2 separate regions of the Homo sapiens genome follow, and region 1 is linked to region 2. The links are contacts of gene promoters, found by promoter capture Hi-C in blood cells and fetal thymus (Javierre and others, 2016). All regions are on one chromosome and are shown on one strand. Each heading gives the region's core, a stretch centred on a gene start or on the middle of the fragment in contact. The rest is flanking DNA. Distances are from core to core; before and after follow the strand shown.

Region 1 (3,260 bases), core at 748-3,247, 1.2 Mb before region 2:
ATCTAAACCATTTAATAACACCAAATGTTGATCAGAATGTGGGTATGATTGCTCGTACATATGGCTAAATATGTAGTCATAAATATGTATCAACCAGTAAACTTTCCTTAGAAGTTGATTTTTAAAAAAAAACCCAAATTGTGGAACTATACTTATTTTATTTTAAACTATCTCATCCAGCTAAAATAATGCTCAAAATTGCTTGATAAGGGAAACTGCAATTATTCTTGAAATGTTAAATATGGTGATAATAGAAAACAGGCTGTTTAAAATAACTTTCCACTCAGGTGACAAATGTAATAACCAGGCTGCAAACTCTTACAGAGAAATATTACCTTAGAAAAATATTTTTCTTCACATTGAATTGTTTGTAAGTTGCTTCCTCACACGAATTAGAAAATTGGATTACTGGTTTTGTCTGTAGCCCAGAAAAAACTGCTAACTCACCTCCGGACCTTTGAAAGGTAAAAATATACGTAGGAGTAATTCCAGTGTGGGCCAACAGATGGCACCAATCTGTTTCTAAGGTACCGCTTTACTCAACTTTAAGAACTTGTGTTTGTCAAGCATTTTCAATTGTATTTCCGTTCATTTACAAGTTATTTTCTCTTCTTCTGAAAAAGAGATCTTGGTAAGTAGAAAGACTTCTGTGGCTTTTTCACATTATGGCACAGGTGCTTCAAGTAAGCAAGTTTGCTAACCATTCATTATATAGGAAATAGGTAATGTTTCCTTGAAATTTTTGCAAAATGATTTGAAGTGGTTTTTTTTGTAGATGTTGCAAATGTCCTTTGAATTTCACGAGCAGGATGAAGAGCAGCGTCTTTACAGCTGTCTTGAAAAGATAGAAAACAACTAGCGCTTGTGGTGATAATTAAGGAACAAAACTAATGTTATTTATTTCTTCTGATTTGGCCCAGCGAATTTTCTCTTTTCGTCTTTCTCTAGTTTATTGTTTTCAGTAACATTTAACAGTAATTTTTATATACCACTGATATGGCACCTATTTATTATATGTTTTTACAGCAGACGTGTGTTTGATCTCCCTTGTCGTTTGTCACTGTAACAGTTTGCTGGTCTGTGTCTGTCCCTAATTCATAAGCTTTTTGAAAGCAGGAATTATGTCAGTCCTATTCATATTTATATCCCTGGTGCCTAGTGCGTAGCATGGCACTGGCAGAAAAATAGACTCTGAATAAACATTTATTAAATGGAGGAAGTGGCCGGGACCAAGCCCCTTCACAAGCTTGAATCTGGCACAGTGTAGCAATTGCCTTCCTCCAGGTCCTTCCACCTTCAGTTTGACAAATGAAACAATGTTTTTCTTGCCTATTTGTTAACTTGATTATGTGATCTTTCCTCCACTTATTTCACTTAATTTTTTTTCTGCTCTCTTCTTCCTTGTAGTTTTAATTTTCATAGGTCTTGTCTACCCTTTTTTTCTGAAATGTAGCTTATTTCATCTATTTCCTCACCCTTTTTATTTGATGCATTTAAAAAATCAAGAGCATTTACCTGTTTATTTTTACTTTCTTTAAAAAACTGTGAACTCTCTAATCTTCCACTCTCATCTTCCCATTTTTCCCTCCTTTTTTCCCAATAAATAGAAAAGTTACTATCTTGTTCATTTAGTGTATTCCCTAGGAACTGCCTCAGGGTATGAACGCCTCTGGAGGAATATTGCGTTTTTGTGGCAGGATACCATAAGGACAGCTGACCAGCTTTTCCACCTGGTGACTGATTTTCAGTCCCATGAACCCAGACACCGTGGGTCTGGTTGCCGGGGACCTGTAGGGTAGGTCCTCATCTGTGAATGCCAGTTATCTACTATTATCTGAAAGTTCTCCATCTTTATATTTTAATATTCCAAATAAAACAAGCACGTTTCTTTAAATATAAAATATTTTCACACAGCTATAAAGACAACTCTTAAATTGCCTTACGATAACTTTTTTGGATTATAAAGGACATTCAAAATGAGACATTTTAGGGATATCTGAAAGTATAAGAAAGAAAATTAAATTCATCTATAATTCAGAGATTCAGAGAACCACTATTATTAGTATTTGGTATATTTCATCACATTGTTTGTCCTCTAGCTTTTACGTATATGTCAGGTTTTAATCATATTTTGCAAAATTAGAGTCTTACTACATATATAATTTTTTTTTTTTTTTTTTGAGACGGAGTCTTGCTCTGTCGCCCAGGCTGGAGTGCAGCGGCACGATCTCGGCTCACTGCAAGCTCCGCCTCCCGGGTTCACGCCATTCTCCTGCCTCAGCCTCCCGAGTAGCTGGGACTACAGGCGCCCGCCACCACGCCCGGCTAATTTTTTTGTATTTTTTTTTAGTAGAGACGGGGTTTCACCGTTAGCCAGGATGGTCTCGATCTCCTGACCTCGTGATCCACCCGCCTTGGCCTCCCAAAGTGCTGGGATGAGAGGCGTGAGCCACTGCGCCCGGCCATAATTTTCTATTACTGTATTCATTTAACATTATCATTTTTTCAAAGTACAGTATTTGAGGCTATTATTTAATTATACATAACTGATTTAATCATTTTCTACACTAGACATTCTGATTTTTTCAATATTTCATTATGTCATGAGTATCCTTATAGTCATATCTTCTGTGTGTTATTTTTGACTATTTCTTTAGAAAATTCCTTGTAGTGGAATTGCTAAAATAAAGGAAGGTATATTTTTAAGAAATTTATGTAAATTACCAAATTACCCTTTAGAAAGCTTGTACTAATTTTTCATTCCTGCCTAAGTAGTAAATGAGGGTTCTTATTTTAGTTTCCACCTACCAACCTGGATATTATATTTTTTAATTTTCCCTATTTGATAGGTGAAAAAAAAATCTTGCCTTTTAAAAAATCTTTTAAGAAACAAGAGTCCTCCTTTGACCCCCTTCCTCTTTTTATGCTTAAATATCTTATAGTAAAAATAACAGGCATTCTGGAAACCTATTTCTAAAAGCTTTATTCTCTATCTCTAAAAAAATTACATTTTCCTAAAATAGCCAAATAACATTATAAAAAATTACAATTTATTTCTTAATAGCATCTAATGGCTGGTCCATCATAGAATCTGCCCCTCCTTCTGTTACTGAATATGTTTTATAGCAAGTCTGTCTTAACTGAGATCTAATCCAAGATCATGAGTTTCATCTAGATGTTATGTGCTTTTTTGATTTAACGTGCTGTTTTATTTTTTGTGAGATTGCACATTATTCATATTATTGGCAATTGATTTTTGG
Region 2 (3,583 bases), core at 746-3,245:
CTAAGTCCAATCTGTGGGAAAAGAGTGAAACATGATTCAATTTTGAAATGACATTTTACATTTTGATTAGATTTCTTGATTCAAGCATTTTGTTACATTCTAACTTACAAAACCAGAGCTGGCTTTATAAGTGTGTGACCTGTGCAACTGTGTGTTTAGGAGGGCTCCACAATCGATTTAATGTTGTGTTGTTGCCATCTTGAAATTCTTAACGATTTTTGAACAGAAGGCCCTGCCTTTTCATTTTGCATTGTGCCCTGCAAATTTTATAGCTGGTTCTGGCTACAACTTCTAATTTATAGTTTAATTTCTAGGTCCGGGATTCTCTCCTGTTTTAGTTAGAAATCCACATGGATCGCTTTCCTCCGCACACATTCTCAATGTTTATGTTGATATAAAACTAGCAAAGGCTGCCTGCTAAGACTGCCAGACTGTAGGATGCGCTGCCAACTGAGCGCAGGACGCGCAGTGCCCTCCTTGGGCTTCAAAGGGCAGGGGCTCCATCCTTCAGCCTCAGCCATCTGTACTGTAGTGGCCTGAGCTTCTGTCACTGGCAATTCCCACATCAATGCAATGTTTGTAATAATAGTCCAGCAGACTGCGTGGAGGACTCGGTGAGAGAATAAATAGTCCTCTGAAAACTAGAGGTTATCAGTCACCTCAAGGATGAGACCCATCCTGTGAAAACCCACAGCCTCCATGCACCCCCTCTTCTTGCTGGTGTTGAGTATTTGCTCAAGTCCTGCCCTAATTTCCTTCAAGCAAATGCTTGATGGCCCAGTAACAACAGTCTCTACAGGGCAGTAAAAAGGAACTATTCAGAGAGAGCCTCTGAGTCCTATTAATGCTTGTGAAGATGATTCAACTTCAGAAAACACTTCTGACCTCTTAGCGTGTGCTGTCTGTCCTCCATCCAGGCGCTGAGGGCACAGCAGCGAGCAAACACAATGACAATGAGATAATTACAATTTATCATGGTGGCCCAGACATCGTGGGTTTACTCCCTGGCCTCTAATAGTCACCTCGCAGAGCTGATGTGAGGATGTGAGGAGATAATAAGCGTCTGGGCATTGAAAGACCTACTTTGCGGGAGTATGCGCAAGGTGCAATACAAGCACACGATTAAAAAAAAAAGGCAAGTTGTTCCTGAAAATGCATAGAGGTATTTTCCCCAATAGGAGCAGCTTAAATGCAAACAAACAGAGGAAGAAATTTAAGTTATCTTTTCTGCTAATTTCCAAACAACAGAACGTGACATCCAGCACAGCATCACTCCCTAGATCTGCAACCGAGGGGAATGCTAGTGGATAGACATGCCAACAGCGAAAAAAGCCTGTGCTCACTCCAGTGCTGGCCGCTTCTGACTGTCCAGTGCTTCTCGGGGCGCGCTCCCTCTTTCTCTTCCCACGCCCGCCTAGTCCCAGCGACCGAGGGAGGTTGCACCCGGGCGACCCTCCCCCCGCCCCGGGCTCCCGCGTAATCCCGGCCCGGCTTGGAAAGGAAGCGGGCCTGGCAAGTAGAGGCACGGCCGGGCCACGGTGGGCAGGGCGCAAGGGCGGGGCTATAGCCTAACTGCGCCGCCAAGGCTGCTGCTGGGTTTGGAAAGGAAGCGGGAGAGGAGGGGTCGGGCTGAGCTGTGGGTGGGGAAAAGGGCGGGGCCATGGATGGGCCACGTGCCTTCTTAGGTGGAGTCCGGGGCTCGGTAGGGAGAGGCGGGGCCAAGCTGAGGTGGGTGGAGAAAGAGGGCGTGTCCATGGCCTAGCTACGCCGCTGAGGCTGCTGCGGGGTTTGGAAAGGAAGCGGGAATGGCAGGGAGAGGCGGGATCAGGCTGAGGTGGGCGGGGAGTCGGGGGCGGAGCCATGAGTGGACCTCGTGCCGGCTTAGGTGGAGCCCGGGGCGCGCGGGGAGAGGCGGGACCGAGCCGAGGTGGGTGTGGCGTGGGGCGGGGCAATGGCGGGGCGGGGTTCGCCGCTCCCTGGGGCCCAGCCCAGCCACTCGATCAGCCCGCCGGCTCCGGAGCGGCTCTGCCTTCCCGAGCGCGGGACGCGGCGCCCTGGGGGAGGAGGGCGAAGCGACGCGGCGATGGCTCCGCGGGCACTCCCGGGGTCCGCCGTCCTAGCCGCTGCTGTCTTCGTGGGAGGCGCCGTGAGTTCGCCGCTGGTGGCTCCGGGTGAGTGTCCGGTCGTAGCCGGGGCGCCGGGTGCTGAGCCCGGTCCCGGGAGCGCGGAAGGAAGCGAGGGGTCGGGACGGCAGCCCCGCGGCGTCCTGCTTTCTGGCACAGCCGCGGGATCCCGGCACTGAACAACTGGCTGTCCCGCGGCGGTCCGGGCAGGGCGCGGTGCGTGGCAACGGCTCCCGTCCCTCCCCTCCCGCGGGCCCCGCTCCCGCCTTCCCTCCCTGGGGCCTCCTCCGAGGATCTGTGTTCCCCAGCGCTGGGCAGTGCGGGGCGTAGGGACCAGGCCTTCTTCGGGGGCGCTTCCTCCACGGCCGCTCGCCTCGGAACCCCGCGGACCCGTTTCCCGCCGCCCTTGTCCTCAAAGGCGCCGCGAGCGGAAGATCGTGACACAGAGCACCGGGTGCGCTGTCGGCGCCTCCTTCTCCCTTTTAAATACCTTAAAATATCCTAAAACCTGGAGGACTTTGAATCTCTTTCCACGTTTCCATTTATTTGGGTGGTTGATGGATTCTTGTAACAGGTCAAGGAGTCCACATTTCTTCCCATATATCCTGTATAAATCAGGCTCGGAAAAAGGGAAGGCGCGTTGGTAAACTTACATTTTTTTCTTCTTTTTGTTGATTCCTGTCGTCACGAAAGGAACCTTGTGTGGTCAGGGCAGGAAGCCACCAACAGAGATGCTAAAGTGTCACCAACGATGAAGCAGTTTTTAATTGAAATCAATCTTAAGAGGAGGTGTAAGTTTTATGGAAGTCCTATGTCACATCCTTGCTTTTATAATTACAGACACTAGGGATTCCTTACCACCGCTTCCCCTCTTAATTGCCACCTAACAGCTGCAGTTAAAAAAAAAACATACTTACTTGGCCATTTGGGGTTACTACAGCTGGGAATCTGACGTCAGCAAGCTCTTCCAAGCTTGATTTCAGCGGTGGTTCCTCCTCAGGCCCAAATAATAAGCAACTGGAAGCCTTTCAACAGTGACTGTCTCCTCCATAAACATCCATAAACTCTTCCTCCTGAGAACATTTCAGTCGCTTACAACTTTTACACTGACTTAGCAGTTTGGCCTTCACTTTTTCATAGAAACCAGAGCAGGTTGGAAGGGAAGGAGATGGATAATATTGTCTCCTGAGTCTTTTTAGCAGGCCCGTATTTCCGTTAGCCATCCACCTGGGGAAATGGCAGCTAGTGACATGTTTTACTGGATGGGACAATTTTTTTTTTCTTTTCCTTATTTTGATACAGGGGCTCATTTTGTCACCCAGACTGGAGTGCAGTGGCACAACCTCGGCTCACTGCAACCTCCAGCTCTCTGGTTCAAGTGATTCTCCTGCCTCAGCCTTCTGAGCAGCTGGGATTACAGGCATGTGCCACCATGCCCGGCTAATTTTTGTATTTTTAGT

Evidence for each region. Contacts are between HindIII fragments. The CHiCAGO score rates a contact against its expected background, and 5 or more counts as called.
Region 1: a fragment that was not itself captured here is called in contact with the fragment with the promoter of RELL1 in region 2 in 1 of 17 cell types (fetal thymus); the score reaches 7.2 in fetal thymus.

Annotation. Positions count from the first base shown.
Region 1 is chr4:38,854,132-38,857,391 of GRCh38, reverse strand. TLR6 (toll like receptor 6) reads left to right here and starts at 575. Exons shown (of 2, transcript NM_006068.5): 1 at 575-631. RefSeq lists an enhancer at 1-126. The HindIII fragment of the contact is 1,497 bases long and covers 1,249-2,745 here.
Region 2 is chr4:37,684,788-37,688,370 of GRCh38, reverse strand. It overlaps RELL1 (RELT like 1), which reads left to right and starts at 1,995. Exons shown (of 7, transcript NM_001085400.2): 1 at 1,995-2,171. The coding sequence starts at 2,084. RefSeq lists silencers at 1,297-1,606, 1,787-2,456. The HindIII fragment of the contact is 3,799 bases long and covers 1-3,097 here.